Regions from separate parts of the Homo sapiens genome. Here region 2 is linked to region 1. Evidence: promoter capture Hi-C in 16 types of primary human blood cells and fetal thymus (Javierre and others, 2016). All regions are on one chromosome and are shown on one strand. The core of a region is centred on a gene start or on the middle of the fragment in contact, and the rest is flanking DNA. Distances in the headings are between cores, read along the strand shown.

Region 1 (5,607 bases), core at 3,039-5,538:
AACAATAATTTATTGCACATTTTATACCAACTAAAAGAGCATAACTAGAATGTTTATAACAAATGATAAATGCTTGAAGACAATGGATATCCTATCTACCCTGCTGTGATTATTTTGCATTGTATGCATGTATCAAAATATCTCATGTACCCCATAAATATACGCACCTACTATATCACTTAAAAAAAATTTTATGGGTACACAGAAGTTGAATACAGACCAGTGTGTAAATGACTGTATAAAATTTTCAAGCATATATACCCACTGGTATACTAGCCAGCAGATACGTAACACTTAAATATGCTAAGGACTGCTTTAGATGCTTTTCACATATAAACACACTTAATCTACACAACAGCATTATAGATTTTTTTTTTTTTTAGACAGAGTCTTGCACTGTTGCCCAGGCTGGAGTGCGTGGCGCTATCTCGGCTCACTGCAAGCTCCGCCTCCCAGGTTCATGCCACTCTACTGCCTCAGCCTCCCAAGTAGCTGGGACTACAGGCGCCCGCTACCACGCCCAGCTAATTCTTTTGTATTTTTAGTAGAGACGGGGTTTCACCGTGTTAGCCAGGATGGTCTTGAACGCCTGACCTCGTGACCTACCCGCCTCGGCCTCCCCAAGTGCTGGGATTACAGGCGTGAGCCACCTTGCCCGGCCTCATTATAGATATTCTTATCCCTATTTTACCAATGAAAAAGCATCTTGCCAAAAATTAAATGTCACAGGAAGTAAGGAATAGAAATGGAACTCAAACTCAGGAGTCAGGCTCCAGAGAAGATACTTTTACCTTTTAGAGGCATTAAAAATCATTCTGGGAGAGGAATTATTACGGAAGGTAAAGAGGGGAAGGTTTTCATTTTTCATATTGTGCATTTCTTCTTGAATTTACTGACATGTAGTACTTTTTTTATGAAGTAGTAACAGTGGTTAACTGGGTGGTAAACTTATTTATCATTCTCAGGTACTTCATTTTCTCTGTATTAAAAATTCTACTCCGTTACTGAATAAAGCTATGATATGTTAACAACAACAAAGAAAACTGGCTTGATTTGACCTACTTTAAATGAACAAGAAGAGAGACTAAGGCCATGTAAAAAAAATGTTCATGCAGATTCCTGTAAGATTTATCGTTAGACCACCACAGCTCATGTTATTAAGATGAATCACACATATTAGCCCATTGTGTTACATTCCTTATGGTAAAATAACACCTGGTCCCTCCTTTCAAAAAGCTCAAAGCCATTAAAACAATTTTTAAGGTCAACAATATTAAGGAGACACATAAAAGGTGGGTGGAAGGAACAATAAGATGGTTTGATTCCTCCATGTAGATATTAACCTCTCCTAAGATACTTCTGACTGGTCTACATAAATTGCTGATGCCAAGGTAAATTACGTGCACCAAAATTAAATTTAAAATTTTAAAAGGAAAATAAATGCAAAACATCATGTTGAGGTCCTTTGTCTTTTCTCTCTATTTAAATGTTTAGAGTAGTATAGTGCTAATAAAGTCAAGGTGAAATGTCCATCTTGCTTTGAAAAACCAATTATCTTGGCTAAAGAAACATCATTTCATAGTTGAACTGCAGCAGTTATCCCTGTGTTGGGGCCACAGAAGATGGAAGAAAGTGGGCAAATGCAATGGCACTAATGAAAAAAAAACCCAAAAACAAAAGAACCCTGTGCCCACAAATGTCTAATTAACATTGGATCAGCAATTGAAATAGGAATAACAGCAGCAGCAAACACTTGCACAGCATTTATACCACCCTAGTTGGTGACCACACAACCCATTTGTTTCTTTTCACTCTGAAAAGTGTCCTGGTTTACACAATAAATTAAATGGTCACTCAACTTCAAAGTGCTTTACATATATTATCATGTTTCATCCTTGAAACAACTCTACAAAGTGTGTACTATTATCTTCCTTTCACAGATGAGTTACTACTCACCTCTGCATTCACAGAAAAATATATACAATTACATTATTAGAAAGTCATAATGCAGCTCCATTATTCTGTCATATTATTCGTAGGCATATTAAAAACCATTATTTCACATTGCAACAAGTACATATTCATGCATTACATTTTTCTAAGTTAAAAAAAAAAGCTACCGTCAAAACCAGCAAGCTTTATTAAATAGAATGTAGAGCCACATTCCACCCCAACCCCTTTCTCCATCTCTCATCTGTTGCTCTGGCATATCAATATATCACCTAATGTTCTCTGTAGTGCAAAAAGTGCTTCTGAAATGATTTCTATCAGGGTACTAACAATATTTAGCATCCTTTAAATTAACACATACAAAATACAGTTAACATAGTTTAAATTAACAGTGACAACATCCACACTGTTTTTCAGCTAGCCAGACTGCTAGAGTTGGCAACAAGGGAAGGAGAGAAAATGGCTTTGTCACAAACTACCTGTGTGACTGCAAGTCACTAACTTCCAAAGACCTCTACTTTTTCACTTATAACATGACAGTAGTGGTGAAAATATCCAGTCTAGTAGCTATAGCTACTCTAAAGCAGGGCAGTTCCTCAAACTGAGTGCAGGAAATAAAGGGCTGCTTCTTCAAGAGCTCCCAGTCCAACTGGATACGCAGACCCAGAGGAATGGATTACATGAAGGGACAGTGATACAGGCACATCAAATTTGTAAAAGACATTGGCTCTTATGTAAGCTCCATGGACAGGTACTGGTACTCCTCCAAGAGCTTTCCAGGAGGATGAATGAGATATCAAGAGCATCCACTTCTATCTTCCACACTAACATCGCTCTAATCCAAGCCCACATTTCTCTCATCTGGAATATTTTGCATTGGACTCCCTGTTTCCATTCTTGCCTTCCTAGAATCCATTTTTTATGCAACTCAGAATGATCTAAAAGATGAATTGGATCACTAACTCTCCTGCTTACAATCCTCCTATCATTTCTAAATGCCCACAAAGGACAATTCAGTCTCCTTTCCAAAGCCTGCAAGGCTCCTCCTGAGCTCCCTTTTACCTCCTTTTGCATCGTACTCCTCTTGGCCCACCTGGATGCAGTCCTGTCCCTAGATCCAGCCCAGTGGCTTTCCTTATTTCCTCTAAAGGGTGCAGAGCTTGTTTTCACCTCGGGCCTTTGCACTAGTTGTTGTCTCTATCTGGAATACTTTCCTGGGCTCTTCATGTGGTTGAACCTGTCAGGTATCACTGCCCTCCCCCATTACTCTCTGTCCTCATTCCATCAAGTTCATTCTCAGAACTTAATTACATTCCTTTTCAGAAATTATCTTATTTACTTATTTGATTGCACACTATGGCTTCTTTCCCCAAAGCAGGGGCCAGGGCCCTCCTCTGTCTAGTTCACTGCAAAGTAGCCAGGACCTCGCATTGTGCCTAGAAGGTATGCAATAAATACTTGTTGACGGATCACACATACCACTCATTTCAGCTTGATTTTTTCAAAAGCTCAGCTGACAAAAACCATGTTTATAGAGGATTGTCTGAAGAAGTTGTAGTTTGTCTTTCCTCTATGGTCTAGATATTCAATCAAAAAACCCTGATTTGAATCAAGCCAGATCAGCAGAGCTACCCACTACCCACCTAAACCACATTGTCCATTGATTTTATTTATTTATTTTTAGACAGGGTCTAGCACTGTTGACAGGCTGGAGTGCAGTGGTGCAATCATGGCTCGTTGCAACCTCAAACTCCTGGGCTCAAGTGATCCTCCTGCCTCAGCCTCCTGAGTAGCTGGGACTACCTACAGGTGTGTTCCACTCCACCTGGCTAATTTAAGAAAATTTTTAGTAGAGATGAGTAGCTGAGACTACAGGTGCACACCACCACACACGCCTGGCTAATTTGAAAAATTCTGTAGTATAGATCATGTCTTGCTGTGTTGCTTAGGATGGTCGCAAACTCCTGGGCTCACGTGATCCTCCTGCCTTAGCATCCCAAAGTGCTAAGATTGATTACAGGTGTGAGCTACCACACCCAGCCTCTACTGGCTTTAGAATGTCTTTCTAAATTGTGATTTAGCCTTCTTTTACCTAGCAAGGGATGTGCTACAAAACAGCTCTATGATCTTCAGTGCTGAAAAGAGGTTAAGGATATGACACTGGCTTTCATTTATAAAGACCTCAATGATAAACTTTTCCTCTAGTTCAAATCAGAAAAAAAAAGTGCTTTTCCTGGGCATCTAAGATTGCCTTCTCTCATGAACACTAGATCACAGAGCAGACGAGGTCCTGCCTCTCAGAATGGCCTACTGGAGAAACAGGTCACTTACAGCTTGGTTAATTAATGTACTAGACTTTATCCTCCTGCATTTTGAGGATCACCCCACTTCTGACTTCCCTTTATTTTTCCTAATCTCAATGTTCTTTTTGTCTTGTTTTCTAATCCGTTTAATTTTTATATTTTCTCATTACAGTGAACTGCCTTAAATGTTTTCTAGCATAAGGCATATAAATAACGTATTAAGGGTGACAGCAGCAATATGCATAAAATAATATGGCTAGTAGGCAGAAGGTCAACTACTTCTAGGAAAGAAAAGAGGGGATTTTTGAGGTGGGTCTTGAGGAATAAGTGGAGTGTCACCTGATAGAAAAGGCAGGAAAAGGCAACCTGTGCAGATTAAGAGAGAAGGCAAAGTCCACATCAAAGGAAAGTGGAAGACAGATTAGTAAAACAACTCTGACATTAATATTTACTGAATATTAATTATTATGTGTTGGACTCAATGCAAAGCCCTTTACAACTTTTTGTGTTTAATCCTCAAAACAATCCGCTGATGTGGATTTTATTATTATCTCCGTTCAGAGACTGAAGCTGAGACAGTCTGTAAGTGGCAGGGTAGAGATTCCTGTGGCTTTTAAGGATGTGGGGGGGCACTTGACTGCAGTCATTACTTTAGAACTCATCTTCTGTCCCTATCTCCCATCTGACAAAGCCTGTTGCTCCTTTGGACATCTCAATCTCAATAAATAGAAAAGTAGCACTAACAGGCACACAGTGAAGTCAAAAACCTGGGATCATCCTAAATCCCTTCTCCCACCATCCATTCAATACCTGAAGTCCTGACATTCTACCTCACAAATTTCCCTATTTCCCTCCCACCTGTCCTCTTTGCATTCCCTCTTGGTCACAGTCCTCATTGTCTCTCACCAGGGCCACTGCAGAAGTAGCAGACACAGGACGCATAATAGTGAAGAGCAGGAACTCGGCAGGTGGTCTCCCTGCCTTTGACCCTCTATAACTACTATCTGTGCGACCTTAGGCAAGCTAACCTGTGTCTGTTTCATCTGTAAAATGGGGATAACAATTAGAATAATACCTAACAGCACTACGTAAACGTTAGTAAGTGGCGAGGAAACTTAGCTCCTCATTTTCTCTTCCTCTAATCATTCTGCACATAACAGAGACAGTGTGTATGTGTGTGTGTGTTTTTTTTTTTTTTAATGAGACACGGTCTCACTCTGTCACCCAGACTGGAGTGCACTGGCGCGATCTTGGCTCACTGCAGCCTCAACCTCCCAGGCTCAAGTGATCCTTTCTCCTCAGACTCCCAAGTCCTGGGACTACAGGTGTGTGCCACTGTGCCAGACCAATTTTT
Region 2 (5,607 bases), core at 1,280-3,779, 110 kb after region 1:
GCTGGTCTCAATATTACCTTACCTGTCTCAGACCTTCTGTCTTCATGCGGGAAGTGAGGTGTCAATTGAGTTCTTCAGTTTTCAGGGGATTCAGATTTCATGCCTTGTGTAATAATGAGCTTGACCGGAAGGTTTTAATTGAGGTTGAAATTGAGCTCCCCAGTTGTAGGACTTTAAATATGAAAAGATCTTAAACCTTTAATCAAATTGCTGTTGATTCTCTATAATTGATTTTTCTGAAAACTCTTGTCAGACAGTTTTAGGTTCACTGTTTCTGCTTTCGTTTTTGCATGTCACTTCTGATGTTTTATTAGTTGACAGCCCTGGCATGCAGGTGGAGCAGATACTGTTTCTCTCTTCAGAAAAAATAAATGTGTGTTGCAGACTCATTGAAAACATTGGCATTCCTGGGTAATTAATCACTCATTCCTTATTAAAAGAATGTATAATGAAGGAATCTGTAAGGCTGTGTTCAAAATGTGAGGTTTTTCTTATTTCCATGTTCTGGTCTTCAGGTATTCTGCCCTCCCCCACCCAGAATAAGGTGATATAAAAAGGATATAAAACCAGTGGAAAATGGCAATAAGGATTGTGACTGGCTCAGTGTAGCACTTTTCAGCAGATAGTTTTGTCATTTCGTTGTACCTTGCAGAGTTGCTCTTGTTTGTTGGACTGTGGGAAGATGATGCTCCCTGTTGGGATTCCTACACAGAAATTTCTATTTTAAAAGACAAAACAGAAACAACCAAACAAAAACAAGGCAGCTCCTCTAAATTGAGTTTTACCAGGTTCCTTTTATTCTCTCTCTTTTTATGTTTTTGTAAAAATTGGATTGGAGTGGTTAACGGCATAGTTTTGTTTTGTTTTTTTAATTGTCTTTTAGCATTTTGGTAATAGCCCATATGTTTCATTTGGGAAAACAGTGACCTAGACCAAATTGAGACTATAGAGATACTTGTGTAAAGACTGAGTATGTTTGATGCTTGAACTACAGATAGTATAACAAATTGGAAGGCTATCCTTATAAAGGTAAATTGCTAAAATTCTAAAGTGTTCTTTTCCCTAACACATAGAGGATTGAATCAAAAGTAGCTAGAGACTGGTGGATTTTCGTTTTGGCTCTCTCTTTTCTTCTCACCTGTATACCTGAGGTATAGAAACAGTTCAAGTGAATGATGGTGTAAGAGGGAGAAAGGGGAGTGAAATTTTACAAAATGATGTGCATCACTCAGATAGTGAGGTCAAATAAATCGGCCAGGGTGATTTATTGCTGTACTCTGTCAGCATCATTTGGGTAACACCGTGCTCTCTGAGGATAGCAGAGAGAAGTCCTTATGGCTGTTAGCAAAGTAGAAGTGTCAGCCAGCATGTCATTCATTGTGTGGTATCTGTAGTCAGAAACAGTGACATAAAGATCACAGAGGTGGCATAAACAGTTGGATGGTTGTGTTAACACTCAAAAGCAACAGCATCCTTTTCCCAAAATGTACTTTCCCTAAGTGTTGTGTGTATGCATGTGTTAGAGAGGATGATAATCCTCTGGTCAAAAGTCTGCACCTTGAACAGGGTTGCAGGAGCATAAAAAGGGCGTCCTTCAGGAACTGAACTGATCACTCAGACCACTCAGTTTTATGTAAGACAAGCTGTTTTTTGAAAGACAAAAAAAAAGGGTGTTATACTCATAGCTGAGGTGATCAACTGTTGTGACATTCTGTACCTCCTCTTTTTCCCTATCATTCCGTATTTTTCAATAAAATATTTGGATTTTTTTTAAAGCCCTTTTACAAATGTTTGCAAAAAGCAACAAGTTAGGCAGGGAAGGAGTATCCCCCAGATATTCAATAACTTTTTCATATTTCTCACATACTTGAAAGCAGAGTTTAGAAAGAACAGTCCTTTTGGGAAGAATTCCTGGCAAGAGGATTATTTGAGGTTGCCATATTTCTGCTCCTTTCTTAGCAACATTATTTACAATCCATTCACGCCTGTCCCTTCCCCCACTGGAGTGGAGTCGTTCTCCCTTGTAATCTGCCCTTTGTGATCTGTTCTCTTTCATGCAGCCAGTGTGAATGGGTATGCTGCAGTGCGCGCTCTGCCCAGAGACGTGGAAATGCCAGGAGACCCGAATACTTTAGTGGGGCCTTTATTTATGTCATAAAGCGCTGACTTCAAGAGCTTGATAATTTGATTAGGACCTTTGGTGAAAAGTTGTTTCAAGTGGCCCAAGTGCTATAAATGACTCTCTTTTCTGCACTTTCCCGTTAGGTTTTAATTTAAAAGCACCTCCGCATTAGGGGGAGGAGAGATGCCTTTGGCAGAGGTAGCAGTTGGAGACTAATTTGTTAGGGCAGCCAGTGTTGAAATCATCCTTTTCAGTTAAATCTCTCTAGTGGAAATGATGCCGAGTGCTTTGTGGCAAGGACTTTTTCTTTCTCAGTGTTTTCCAGTGCCATTTGTAACCCACCTAAGCATGCTCTGGAGTTGCCTCCCAGCCCCAATTTTGGCTAATTGTCCTTTGAGGCACTGCATGTCAGAGGTCAGTTCTGAATTCCCCAACTTGAGATTTGAATGTTCCAGGGACAGTCCCACCGACTTGCTTCCTTTTAAGCAATTAGACTACACTCAGCTCTCTCTGGAATAGTTTCATCAAGTGCCTGGGGAACATAAAGAAATTGGATCAAAGATAAAGCAGATTTAGGAATAAAAAGGACCTGGGACTACAAAGAGTGGATGGAGTAGGACCATGTTTGCTTGTCAGGCCATATGTGAGTGCTTTTAAGAAGAATAAGAAAATTTAGAGGGAAAAGTTGACAACAATGAAAGTAGTGAGGAAATATTAAATGCTCGATGTTCATGTGTAGTCCATGGTGTGATTTTCAATGGTATGCCAAATATTTTTTAATATTCGTGAGAAAAAATATATACATATATATATAAAAAACTCCTACATCAAATACAAAGTCATTCTTTCAGAGATATTATTGCTTAGGATAATGCTAAATTAGTCCCTAGTCAGCCACTGAATTTTAAAAAATATATTAAGTAAATAATGGTCTAGATATTGTGCAGATTTGGAAAAGGATCCAAAATATGGTTTAGTTGTGAATAACAAAAGTTTAGGGAAAACACTAGTCTGGAGCAAAGTAGATGTGTAAGAAAAAAGTGCTGAGTTTTTTTTGTTTTTGTTTTTGTTTTTGTTTTATGCAGTCTTTATTTCTAGTTTGCCTCAGGTCCTGCTCTTGGATGTTTTCTTAAGGAGTTATAATCCTTGTGAAAGACACATGATGCCAATTGACACCTCACGAGTTGTGTTTGGTGGCCTGGAAATGGATTATGACAGTTTGGATTAATTGGGAGCTGTATAATAGCAAGCTGCAGTTATTTTTCAACCTGGACATAAAAATAAACAATAAATAATTTTGTGAAGGGACAGCTTAATGAATGACCTGAAGTTTTTAAACTGAGCTTTTGATACATGCGTTGTTACTTACTGTGACTGGCCAAAGACTGTGTGCATGTTTACCTATGTTTTACATTTTATAGCCATGTATAACCTTCATTATTGAAAGTCCTTGCTTTAAATGGGCGTCATTATGGGATGTTTGTGGAATGGAGCTGTCAGAAGGCATGAAGTCATGCATTCCTTGAAGCATGCATTGGTATTTCTCATAAGGCCCATCCATGCAGAGTGCACACTCTGTTTAACCTTAACTGAGTCTATCTGAAAGTGTGAGTGAGTTTCATTTAAAGAAAAATATGTGGGTTTTACTTAGAAAATCTGCCCAAAATTTCCACCTTTGGATCTGTAAACTGAATTTGAGACTTGATCTTCATTTTATTCTACTTGCAGTTCTTCCTGAGTGTCTTCTGAGTTCTGTGAGGAAAATGAGCCAGCCTTTTATTTGTAAAATAACTTTAGCTTGAATGAATGTTCTTTTTGTTTGGTGTGAATTTGCTGATTTTTAAATGAATTCTTAAAGTTGCTCCCCTGAGCTCCTATCTTAGAAGAGGTTGATATCTTCCTGAAATGGCACGTAAAAATATGTATACTAAATCCTTATCACACTGGAGAAGATAACTTACAGTAAAGAGGGTTTGATTTGTTCTTAAGTGATTTCTACCTCCTTTAGAAGTCAGGAGGTGTTATTTGTGAGTACTTTTCTGTCTAAATAAACAAGCCTGTAGCTGGTATCAGCCAAGCTAACAGGGGGCCTCTGTCTTATGTGCTGATGTGTTCCCAGTACTTGGTCCACAGTAGGCTCTGTGCTGCAGGCTTTGCAACTCTTGATCGTTTAATCCACAGCAGCCCTGCAAAGTAGGCTTGGCAACTGAAGACGCTGCCAACGAGGATGGAGTGAGCTGGTTGCCCAGGGTCACCCAATTAGTAACTGGCAGAGCAAGGATATGAACCCACATATCCCTGACTCTAAAGTTCTTGCCCTTTTCAGGTAATCTTTTAAAAAGTGTTTTTATTTGATTTGGATTCTATTCAGGCTGATTACTCAACCCATACATATCAAGACTGTGCCCAGCAGTCCTGAGCCTCTGCTGGGAAGGTGACCATAAACAACCTGAGAGTGACTCGAAGCATGCATATTGTGTTGTGTATTGGTTGGTGGGTCCAGCCTTACCCTATTGAGCAGGTGTTTGCTGATGGTCTTTTGTAGAGCATCCTCACCTGGAAACTGTGTAAGTTGATTCTTTTTAGCCAAGCTATAAAGACAGCCCCAATTGGCACATTCTGTCACAGTTCACTCTTCAAACTGATGCAGGATTTTTCTTCTTGGTCACTCTGCAAACCAGGGATGCCCGGCCAGTGATACGCCCTGCTTGGGCCTCCCTCGGCCACGCTGGGTGTGCCGCAGCTTGCCTGTGTTAAGGTTGTACCTGCGTTTGGCAGTTCCTGAGCTCTTGAATTGCACCCAAGAAGAATGAGGATACGTGGAACATTGGAGGGTGAGAAGAGTGGAGAAGAATTTTATTGAGCAATGAAAACGGCTTTCAAGCAGAGAGAGGATTCAGGGAGAGGGGAATAATTCCCCCATGTGGCTGGTTCTGGGGCCCTTTATGGACTCAGAATGGGGAGTGCCTGCTGATTGGTTTGTGAGTATGCAAAAAAGTTTAAAGGGAAGGCACAACTCAAAGGTGGGCATGACAGTGTAGAAAAACCAATTTGGAAAGGGTAAGTATATATAAAAATAGGTGAAGGGTGGGGACCAGTTAGAGGAAAGCATCCCAAATGGGAAGACAAATTCTTAATCCAGTCCTAGGATTTAACCTGTAGCTTGGTTTTCAGGCTTTAAACTGTCTTCGACTTGGAGGTGGGGTTTCGTCGGAGACCCTCCCCTGTCTTTCTAGGCATTTGTCTGCCTCTATCAAAACCATCTTGGATGCTTTAAGACCCTCCAAGCAGGGAATTGCTACACTGGCTGACACACCCATAGCTGATTTTTAGCTTAGCAACTTCCAAAATGGAAAGATGAAATCGAAAACAATCTGGATTTCCCTTAAACATATTCTGGATCCCACCCTGAATATACCAAAAAACTGTCATCGATGACAAATGTTCAGCCTATGCAGACTTGTACACTAACAACCTGATTTTGC

The links. The method cuts DNA at HindIII sites, captures the fragments that hold promoters and counts their contacts. A CHiCAGO score of 5 or more calls a contact.
Region 2: a contact is called between a fragment that was not itself captured here and the fragment with the promoter of THOC7-AS1 in region 1, in 7 of 17 cell types (total B cells, neutrophils, activated CD4 T cells and 4 more). The highest score is 10.6, in total B cells.

The regions. Positions count from the first base shown.
Region 1 is chr3:63,856,357-63,861,963 of GRCh38, forward strand. It overlaps THOC7-AS1 (THOC7 antisense RNA 1), which reads left to right and starts at 4,289. Exons shown (of 2, transcript NR_104326.1): 1 at 4,289-4,640; 2 at 5,143-5,463. All of the region lies in intron 1 of THOC7 (THO complex subunit 7), which reads right to left. The HindIII fragment of the contact is 14,056 bases long and covers 2,135-5,607 here.
Region 2 is chr3:63,968,750-63,974,356 of GRCh38, forward strand. The region is part of intron 5 of ATXN7 (ataxin 7); the gene reads left to right. Among named protein-coding and RNA genes, the nearest start is that of PSMD6-AS2, 32 kb to the right of the region's middle. RefSeq lists enhancers at 224-303, 314-373, 1,728-2,379, 4,361-4,861. The HindIII fragment of the contact is 7,761 bases long and covers 1-5,607 here.